2 separate regions of the Homo sapiens genome follow, and region 1 is linked to region 2. Evidence: promoter capture Hi-C in human tissues and cell types (Jung and others, 2019). All regions are on one chromosome and are shown on one strand. Each heading gives the region's core, a stretch centred on a gene start or on the middle of the fragment in contact. The rest is flanking DNA. Distances are from core to core; before and after follow the strand shown.

The links. The method cuts DNA at HindIII sites, captures the fragments that hold promoters and counts their contacts. A contact is called where the count stands out against the background at its distance.
Region 1: a contact is called between a fragment that was not itself captured here and the fragment with the promoter of SERINC5 in region 2, in 1 of the 25 tissues and cell types used here (lymphoblastoid cells).

What each region holds. Positions count from the first base shown.
Region 1 is chr5:78,981,106-78,984,568 of GRCh38, forward strand. The region is part of intron 1 of ARSB (arylsulfatase B); the gene reads right to left. Among named protein-coding and RNA genes, the nearest start is that of ARSB, 2.5 kb to the right of the region's middle. The HindIII fragment of the contact is 4,034 bases long and covers 1-3,463 here.
Region 2 is chr5:80,253,999-80,261,458 of GRCh38, forward strand. It overlaps SERINC5 (serine incorporator 5), which reads right to left and starts at 2,050. Exons shown (of 12, transcript NM_001174072.3): 1 at 1,898-2,050. The coding sequence starts at 1,924. RefSeq lists silencers at 1,533-1,812, 1,923-2,362, 6,452-6,746 and enhancers at 2,216-3,149, 3,150-4,083, 4,084-5,015. The HindIII fragment of the contact is 12,197 bases long and covers 1-3,614 here.

The DNA.
Region 1 (3,463 bases), core at 641-3,140, 1.3 Mb before region 2:
ACGCCCGGCTAATTTTTTGTATTTTTAGTAGAGACGGGGTTTCACCGTTTTAGCCGGGATGGTCTCGATCTCCTGACCTCGTGATCCGCCCGCCTCGGCCTCCCAAAGTGCTGGGATTACAGGCGTGAGCCACCGCGCCCGGCCGAATTTCTAGTTCTTGAATTTACCAGTAACTACTTACCCCATCTGCTAATTAGTCTCCTCCATTGCCTCCAACCTGTACCCAGTCCCTACACATATTTCACCATAGCATGCACATTTAAAATAGTTCATTTGTGAGGGCTGTGAACAATTAAATGTCTCACTATAAAAGGCTGAATTAAGTAAGTTCCTAGCAGCAGAACAAGTAGTACACGCAATTTGTAAGATACACTGTGTTGGGCAAGATTAATCTTTCTACCAGTAGATGGGGTTAGTATGATAGGTATGATAATGTGCATTTGCCAAGTTAGAAACTCGCCCTAATGGACACAAGAGCCTTAGAGTTAAATTAATTTAGAGCTAGACAAAGTCTAGAGTTCAGCCCAACTCCTCTGTTTCACAGATGTGGAAATGATGGCCAGCGAGGTCACAGTCTGACCAGCCAAGACCAAAACCTACATCTCAGTTCCTAACCAGTCCTCTTTACTCAATAAATAATTTCTGAAACCAAAAAAACTAAAACTCAGGATTTCATGAGAGTATAAAGTCCAGTCAGTCTAGGCTTGTTTATCAACTTGTGCTTTTCTTTTCTAAAGTTAAATAATTATGGGAAAGGGGTCTGTAAATATTAACTTAAAGCATGACTGCCAAGTTCATAGATATGACTCTTTTTTTTTTTTTTTTTTTTGAGACGGAGTCTCGCTCTGTCGCCCAGGCCGGACTGCGGACTGCAGTGGCGCAATCTCGGCTCACTGCAAGCTCCGCTTCCCGGGTTCACGCCATTCTCCTGCCTCAGCCTCCCGAGTAGCTGGGACTACAGGCGCCCGCCACCGCGCCCAGCTAATTTTTTGTATTTTTAGTAGAGACGGGGTTTCACCTTGTTAGCCAGGATGGTCTCGATCTCCTGACCTCATGATCCACCCGCCTCGGCCTCCCAAAGTGCTGGGATTACAGGCGTGAGCCACCGCGCCCGGCCAGATATGACTCTTAACAACTTCCTTCAAGTAACTCATTTTGAGACAGTCAAAAAATTCCTTCATTTTATTGTCTAAAATTATGCATAACAAATGACTCAGAAATAAAATCTATTTTTATTTTACATGGAATATAGGCAATTCCTAACTCAGAAATATGATGGGTTGATTCTTTACCTTGAGATATTTAGGAATGACCCAAATGTCCAAAAGTAATACAGGGATTATTTAGTATGTATGAAGCAGTCCTTGGGATGTTATTTTTAATAATTTTGAGTAGGCAATATGGCTTAGTGGTTATAGGCATCAACCCTAGGGCCACGTGCCCTGGGTCAAATCCTGGTCCAACATATACTAGCCCTGTAACCTTGGGCAAGTTTCTTAACCTCTTCCAGCATCAGTTTCCTTGTTACAGAACAGAGATGATAGAGTTGTTGTGAGAATCAAATGAGTTAACACTTGTAAGTGCTCAGAACAATACCAGCATATAGTATCTGACGGAGACTCCTGAGCCTTCCCTGAAATTTCTACTTCATTAAAAGTGGACACTTGCTCACCCTGGGTAACATCTACTTGGGTCTCATGAACTCTAAGAGAATAAAGTGGGTGAGAAAACTGGAGGAAAAAAAATGTTTGGGGAAGCAAGGCTGCTTTAGAATCAGCTACACTGAGAGGCCTCTAAACCTTTCAGAGTGCCCAGCTTCTCTACTCATCCTTTACTTCATAACCATGGGGTACTCTAAATACTAAAGTTTGTTCTCCAAGACATAATTTTGGTGACTGGTGGGGGAGGATGTTAGGGGACAAAAGCAACTGATTACGGGAATGGGTTTTTTATTTTATTTTGTTTTGAGATGGAGTCTTGCTCTGTCGCCCAGGCTGGAGTGCAGTGGTGCGATCTCGGCTCACTGCAACCTCTGCCTCCCGAGTTCAAGCGATTCTCCTGACTCAGTCTCCCGAGTAGCTAGGACTATAGACGCATGCCACCACACTCGGCTAATTTTTGTAGTTTTAGTAGAGACGGGGTTTCGCCGTGTTGGTCAGGCTGGTCTCGAACTCCTGACCTCAGGTGATCCACCTGCCTCAGCCTCCAAAGTGCTGGGATTACAGGCGTGAGCCACCGTTCCCGGCCCAGGAATGGGTTTCTGAAGTTGGTATTTGCTTTCCTGTCCAACTCTGTTGGAAGGGAGGAAGTTGGAGAAATGAATGGCCCTTCCATTCTTTTGCAATCTGAGTTCAGTTCTCTTACTTCAAAGCAAATGCAGAACCCTTTGGGCAAACCTCACCTTTCCCTTCTTCTTCTTCTTTACTGGCACATCCCTTTACTCCCACAAAGTGTCCAGGGTGAGATTTACACAATGTAGGGGATTCCTAATTACACGTAGCAGCCAAGGTCAGAACCGCCAAAAGTACTAAGGTGGATGGTGAAGGGAAGCATCCTTTACTCCCATTTCTAACCTTGGCTACAGCTATTTCTCACCCTTAGCAACACCCAATCTTTCCTCTTTATAAAAGCCTTCAGACCACTGCGCATATCTTTATCACAAGTAAGCCCTCCCTTCTCTTGATCTTAGGACCACGTGAGGCTAGGGTTGATCTGACAGGTTATGCGAACACACACTTGGGAGGGCAACATTCAAATATATATCCCCTGTCAGTAGCACAGTAAGCTCAAAATATTTTTGTTGAGTAAACAGCATATGTACTCTGTGAAGGCATGCAGGTGGTATCCAACAGTTCCCATTTACTGTATTTAATATGGTCATAATAACTTCAGGGTCTTAGAAATATGACAATCGTATTCAGATTGAGGGGAAAAAAGGCCAATTTCATAAGCCCGGGACGACCAGTGGATGCAGGAAAAGCACAACGGACACTGCCTTGACCACTTTCTAGCTGTGCGATTCTTATGCCAACGAGCCTTTACAGGCTTCCTGCCTCGTCTGTAAAACGGGGTAAAAACAACTACCTCATGCACTGTTTCAATAATTCACTTTAAAAACAACAAAGTGCTATGCAAATGTTCTTGATATTCTTAGCCATCTAACATCTATGCACGCTCTACATTTATATTTCCTTCGTTAACTGTGGAGCCGTTCCTAAAGGGAAGCTTTTAAAGCGATAATGAAGATGCTCAGAAGAGTTCAATACAAGGTTACATGTGAAAGGAATGTCAGCAGCCTAAGAAAAATCAACCTAGCATCAGGTTTCATTCCAGGGGTGTTGAGAACCTGGAAAAAAATAATCTTTGGTGGGACACTCCTAACCTATCACCGCTGGGTTCCCACGGGCCAGGGTCGCACCCACGGCGAGCACCCCTTCATTTTACCTCTCCCCTCGTCTTTGCT
Region 2 (7,460 bases), core at 800-3,299:
CAGCTCACCACAACCTCTGCCTCTGGGTTCAAGCGATTCTCCTGCCTTAGCTGTGTAGCTGGGATTACAGGCATGCGTCATCACACCCGGCAATTTTGTGTTTTTAGTAGAGATGAGGTTTCTCCACGTTGGTCAGGCTGGTCTCCAACTCCTGATCTCAGGTGATCCGCCCGCCTCTGCCTCCCAAAGTGCTGGGATTACAGGCATGAGCCACTGCGCCCAGCCTGTTTGCTTTTCTTTTAACTTCCTACCGCCCCATCCACAGGAAATCACAGTGTGATCACCATCACACAGCACTGAGGCCCACCACAGTGATGCCTCCAGCAGGCCTGGGAAAGCAGGGGTTAACTTTGATTTGGTTCTTTCCAAAGTCCTAAGAGGGGAGACTTTAGAAACCTGCTAAAACATCAACAGCAAAATAATTCTTTTACAAAACCCATTTGAATACTGGTAATTACAGAGCTCTAAATTAGGAACTTGGGAATGGCAGAAAGAGCCTCAAGGGGACTTCAAGGGACCAGGACAGATGCCCCTAAAGAGCTGTATCATTACTACGTAATAAAAAGTGTCGCATCATATTGGAGAAAAAGTATTTCAAAACGGGAATAAAAGATTTGCAGAGCTTTCTGAAAACAGTCTTTCCTGGTCCACCTTGTTCTCAAATACCTGGTAAGGTGGTGACCATTCTCATTCTCTTTCTCTCTCTGCCTGACACAGGGAAAAAAAATCATTTCGTCTCAGTCGTCAAAAGCCTCAATTTCCTCAACTCTGAAAAGGCCAGCTTTAATGTATGCCAAGCACAGTATTAGACCTCAAAAACCAAGACAGCTCCACGTGGCCACTCTAAACAGGACAGATTATCTGCCAGTATAATCGCCGGTTACAGAAACCCACAGTTTAACCACTCCATCACTTACAGCTGGCCTCGATTGTGGAAAGGCTGAGTGTCAGCAAGAACACCCCGAACCAGGATGCTCCCTAGAGTCTGATTCGTTCGTGAAAACACTCCATTAAAACTCTGTACCGAAACGCTGATAATCCACATGTAAAGGGAGAAAAGAGCTCCACATCCAAGAGACTCACCTACTTCGTTTTTTCTAACTCTGCAGGAAGGAGTGAAACCAGCATTACAGGGCTAAGACGTACTAATTCTACACTGATGCAGTAACTGGTAGGAGACATAATGTTTTAAGACATCATAGGTTTAAATAGGCGAGAGTTAAAAAACAGGTTCGAACAAGTTTATTTGCAAAGAGAGGCAGGAAGGTTCCAGCCCTACCCAGGCAGTCGTGCTAGTACCGAGCCAGGGTTGGGTCGGGAAATTCAGGAAGCAGGGCTGAGTTTTCCCTTCGCCCAGACCTGCGCCCGGTAGTTTGGAAGTCAGGCTTCGAGACATTCTCAAAGGTACAGAGCCCACGCTCGACTACGAGATGCCAAGCGCAACCTGCCTGGGTTGTTTGACCCGAGTTTTATTCAGGGCATAGCAAAGGAGACGGTGCCTAAACCCACTTTTCTTCCTGGATTCATCCGACAAGCAGAGTGGAGAGGGCTACGGAGCTCAGCGCTATTCACCAGTGCTCGGCGCAAGAGGCGACACGCCCCTGGAGCAGTCGGGATCCTCCGCCCGAGCCCGGCACGCCCCGCTCCACGCGGAGTCCCGGAGGCCGGACGGGAAGACCCCGGGGTAGCCTCTCGGGCTTCCCCCTGCCCCTTCCCGCCCGCCCAGGGCACAGGATTTCCCGGACGGCTGAGCGCCGCGGGGCCAGCCCGAGCGACCCACCCGGGCCCTACGTTCGGCCGCGGAGCTGGGAGCGCACCCAGGCAGGTCCTCCACGCCTGGACTCCTGGCCCGGTTCTCCGATCTGACAACCCCCGCGCTGCGCCCGGCCTCGCTCACCTGGCCCGCACAGCACTGAGCTGACATCGCGGCGGCCAATGCCGAAGGCGCGCTCGCTGGCTCCCCGCGCCGCACGGGCCCTCCTGGCTGCCTCGCGCCTCGAGCGCTGGGCTCAGCCGCAGCTCACACTTGAACGAAGATCAGCCTCGGCGAAGCGCCTAGGCGCCGAGGCCTGGGTAAAAACAACTGCGGCCAAGCCCCGCCCCGCCGCCGGCCCCGCCTCGCCCGCCCCCAGCCCCGCCCCGTGCCCGCCCCTTCCCGGGCGCCCGGCGGCGGAGCAGGCTCGACCCGGGCTCGCACTTCCGCTGGCGTCAGGCGGGTGGGCTGCTGCGATCACTTCCCGGTTGGGGCGCCGAGCTCCGGAGTCGGCCGCCAGCCTTTGGGCCCCACGCTCCGGGTCTGGTGCGCGGTCTGGCCGCGCTCGGGCCCTCGCCAAATGAGAGCGCAGCGCCTCTCCGCCTTCGGATCCAGAGAAAGAGCTTGTTGCTGCCTCTAAAAGGTTGGAGCCTTAGTAAGCGGTTCCTGCCTTTCCTGCACAGACCAGACCGCCGGGTGCTGGTCTGCGCTCTGCCGCGCGCCGACTGGGACAGCCCACCCACGAGATCCTTGTTCCTGAAATCCCTTTCCTTCCCTCATCTGCCAAGAAAACTTTCAACTTTTGGGCTCTCCGCGCCTCCCAAGCTTCCTCGAATCCCTGGGCCCTTGACTGTTCTGCCCTGATGGCACTTGGTGAGAGATCCATTGAGAGCCCTTTCCGTGCCTTCCTGAATATTGATATGTTTTCCAGCCTCTCCTCCTGCGCTGGCCCAAGGACTCATTTTCCGTCCCTGCTTCCTCACTAAAAAGAGGGTGCCCAATAATTGCTTGTTCCATACAGAAGGCAGGGAGGCCGTCTCTAGGTTTTCTCCCACTCAGATCTGCTGTCCTCACAGCCACCTCCCCAAGAGGAATGAAGGTATTTCTTTTTTTTTTTTCTTTTTTTTCTCTGAGACGGAGCTTCACTCTGTCGCCCAGGCTGGAGTGCAGTGACGCGATCTCGGCTCACTGCAACCTCTGCCTCCCGAGTAGCTGGGATTACAGGCGCCTGCCACCACGCCCGGCTAATTTTTTGTATTTTTAGTAGAGACGGGGTTTCACCATCTTGGCCAGGCTGGTCTCGAACTCCTGACCTCAGGTGATCCGCCCGCCTCGGCCTCCCAAAGTGCTGGGATTACAGGCGTGAGCCACCGCGCCCTGCCGGAATGAAGATATTTCTGTTAGTGCGATTTTTGCGCCAATCCCTTTGCTCTTTCAAATAAGCATTACCGTACCCATTTTAGCGGTGAGGCAACTGAAGCCCAGAGAGGTTAAATAACTTGCCCAAAGCCTCACAGCAAAGTTGAGGAAGTAAAACTGGGCCTGGAATCCACTCGTCTGATCCCCTGGCACATGACGCAAGGCTTGACCTTAGAGGGACTCGTTTCCAGACAGAGCTCTGGCAAAGGAGTGTCTTGGGCAGCTTAGGAGTAGAAGAGGAAAGGTGAATGGAAACCAGGCCTTGGGTTATGAGCTGCGCAGGATTTTCCAGCATCTCAGATGCAGGCGTTTAGAGAAAGAGATATAATGGAGCAGGCCCTACTCAGAGCCACGAAAAGGAATGAGGACAGTTGGCTCTAACTCAAAACAAAAATAGGGTAAACCCAATCAGTCAAGCGCAGCAACCTGCTCCGTGGCGATCTGTGACTCATCAGAAGCTGAGGCTCTCACCAGGACTTTCTAATGAGCTTCGCTGTTGGCTACGACCGCGGTCACTTCACTTCAGCCCTACTCCTGGCCTGGGGAAATGGGCAGGCCCCCTAGTAGCTCGGGGTGGGGAGACGGGTGGAGAGGAAGGAGGGGCGAAAAGGGAAGGCGCGAAATCTACAAATGTTTAAGCCAGCTGGAACTCCGATGCCTCTTTGCCTTTTAGGGAAATTGACTCGACTCGGAACTCGAGGACCTTTCACAAGAGACCACTGGGTTAGGGGGCAGAGCTGGTAATAGAATCCAGCGCTCCGAACCCTGAATCATGTCCTCTTTTTGCTGCTGAGGCTCAGGCCACAGCACCCCAAATTATGACTGTAGAATACCAAAATATGCTATCCCAAAATACACTTGTTTGGCACATTTCAAGCTGGTTATTCTGAGAAACTGCAGACACGGGAGTAGCTCTGAAAAGCTGTCCTTTTGTAAAGCAAATTTACATCTATAAAGGAAGTCCACATAGTAAAAGTATCTGTGTCAGGAAGGCAGCTGCTCAGAGAACTTTTATTACATGAGAGACTTTACATAACAAGGCAACTTTTTTTTTTTTTTTTTTTTTTTTTTTTGAGGCAGAGTCTCGCTCAGTCGCCCAGGCTGGAGTGCATTGGCATGATCCCGGCTCACTGCAACCTCCGCCCCCCGGGTTCAAGCGATTCTCCGGCCTCAGCCTCTGAAGTAGCCGGGATTACAGGCGCGCGCCACCGCGCCCGGGTAATTTTTGTATTTTTAGTAGAGACGGGGTTTCACCATGTTGGTCAGGCTGGTCTCGAACTCCTGACCTCGTGATCCGCCCACCTCGGCCTCCCAAAGTGCTGGGATTACAGGTGTGAGCCACCGCGCGCAGCCACAAGGCAACATTATTTACCATACATTTCCTCCACTAACCCTCCTATATCCTACCTGTGGTGCCTCCCCACTGTCCCCACAGAAGCCCCAAGCCCTTATTTATTTCTAGCTCAGAATGCTATAAGCTTCAATCATCTGGCCCTTCATGTTTTGTGAGATTCCTGTGCTGCTGCGTATGCAGGTAATTAAAACGGTTTTTCTTCTGTTAATCTGTCTTATGTCGGCCAGGCGTGGTGGCTCATGCCTGTAATCCCAGCACTTTGGGAGGCCGAGGTGGGCGGATCACGAGGTCAGGAGTTTGAGACCAGCCTGACCAACATGGTGCAACCCCATCTCTACTAAAAATACAAAAGAAGTAGCCGGGCGAGGTGGTGCGCACCTGTAATCCCAGTTACTCAGAAGCTGAGGCAGGAGAATCGCTTGAACCCAGGAGGCGGAAGTTGCAGTTAGCCGAGATTGTGCCACAGCACTCCAGCCTGGGCGACAGAGCAAGATACCGTCTCAAAAAAAAAAAAAAAAATCTCTGTTATGTCAATTTAATTTGCAATCCAAGTAAAGAACCTAGAAGGGTAGAGGGAAGCCATTTTTCCCTCCCCTACATTGCTAGTTCCATGCCAATGTGAGAGGACTCTGAGAATGTGGATGTCTGCCACCTGGAGAAAGAGTCTTAATAACCTGGGCACTTGGCCAGGCACGGTGGCTCACACCTGTCATCCCAGCATTTTCAGAGGCAAAGGTGGGTGGATCACCTGTGGTTAGGAGTTCAAGACCAGCCTGGCCAACATGGCGAAACCCTGTCTCTACTAAAAATACAAAAATTAGCCAGGCAGGGTGGTGGGCACCTGTAATTTCAGCTACTCAGGAGGCTGAGGCAGGAGAATCACTTGAACCCAGGAGGCGGAGGTTGCAGTTAGCCTAGATGGTGCCATTGCACCCCAGCCTGGGCAACAAGAGCAAAATTCTATCTCAATAGATAAATAAATAAATAACCTGGGGACTTGTAGCCTCTATTGAAAGGTACCAGAAAAGGATAAAGCCTGAGTTTTCAAGCCAGGAAGTTGCAAATTCTAACTCTACCAAGAAGTAGCTGGGTGACCTCCAAGCCTCAGTTTCCTCATCTTCAAAACCAGGTTAATAGTGTCAGAGGCATTTGAACCAGAGAGACTCCATCTTGAATAGGGACTGGGTAAAATAAGGCTGTGACCTGCTGGGCTGTATTCCCAGGAAGTTAAGGCATTCTTCGAGGATGAGATGGTGGGGGTCAGCACAAGATACAGGTCACAAAGACCTTGCTGGTAAAATAGGATGTAGTAAAGGAGCCGGCCAAAACCCATCAAAATCAAGATGGCGACCAAAGTGAGCTCTGGTCGTGCCCACTGCTCATTATACACTAATTATAATTCATTAGCATGCTAAAAGACACTCCCACCAGCACCAGGACAGTTTACAAACATCAGGAAGTTACCCTATATGGTCTAAAGGAGGAGGAACCCTCAGTTCTGGGAATTGCCCATCCCTTTCGCGGAAAACTCATGAATAATCCACCCCTTGTTTAGCATATAATCAAGAAATAACTATAATTAGTTGAGCAGCCCATGCTGCAGCTCTGCCTATGGAGTAGCCATTCTTTACCTCCTTTACTTCTCTAATAAATTTGATTTCACTTTATGGACTTGCCCCAAATTCTTTCTTGCGTGAGGTTCAAGAACCCTCTCTTGTGGACTGGATGAGGACCCCACTCTGGTAACAATATACTTTTTGTCCAGTCACATTTCTACATGGCTGTCCATACTCTGTTGAATGTAAGCATAAGAATGGACAATTTTGCTGTATCTTTGGATCTTCATTCTGAAGGCTCCCATGGCATGTAAAACTATGATCAAATAAATTTGTATGCCTTTTTTCCTTTTAATCTGCCTTGTCGGTTGATTTTCAGTGAAACTTCAGAGGGTAAAGGGGAAGTTTGCCCTTCACCCCTACATGGTCAAGCTCAAGATACCAAAAGACATCAGCTGAAAATTCAATCAACTTGCCTGAATCATCCACCCCAAGCTTAGGAAGCATGCTTGAACCCACCTGGCCAAGGCTGGTTTTGCCGGCCAAAGTCCAAGGCCAAGGCTCCAACCAAAGCCCAGACTTCAGTTGCAGCTCCAGTTCCAGTTCCAGTTCCAGCTCCAGTTCCAGTTCCAGTTCCAGCTCCAGATCAAATTTCCAAGGGTGCCCATGCACACCCACAAAGGATCTGGAGGAGAGGCCTCTGTCTACCAATGGGAGGACAGAAGGACTGGTGTGAGCCCTGGGCTGCCATCTGTTTCTGCATGGAGCTGGTACCATTCTTTTCTATTTATACAAACAAACATGAGGCAGGATCTGTCCATTAAAAAAAAGAGGCCGGGCACAGTGGCTCATGCCTATAATCCCAGCATTTTAGGAGGCCGAGGTGGGTAAATCACCTGAGGTTGGGAGTTCGAGACCAGCCTGGCCAATATGGTGAAACCTCTTCTCTACTAAAAATACAAAAATTAGCCGAGCGTCGCGGCACATCTTTAATCCCAGCTCCTCAGGAGGCTGAGGCACAAGAATCACTTGAACCCAGGAGGTGGAGGTTGCAGTAAGCCGAGAAAACACCACTACACTCCAGCCTAGGCGACAGAATGAGGCTCCATCTTGAAAAGAAAAAGAAAATTAAAAAGAAACAGTCTATACAGGCTCATTCCCTTTCCCCACTCAGAGTTTTTTCAAAGGAATGTGGCCAGATCTGGAGGTTTACCTGCCTTCTGGCTCTGAGGACTTTGCAGTTACTATTTAAGGTCTGGTTAATAGCTTCCTTTGCATCGTGGTTGGTTAACAAGAGTAGGCTGGGCAGAGTGGCTCACGCCTGTAATCCCAGCACTTTGGGAGGCCGAGGCGGGCGGATCACGAGGTCAGGAGATCG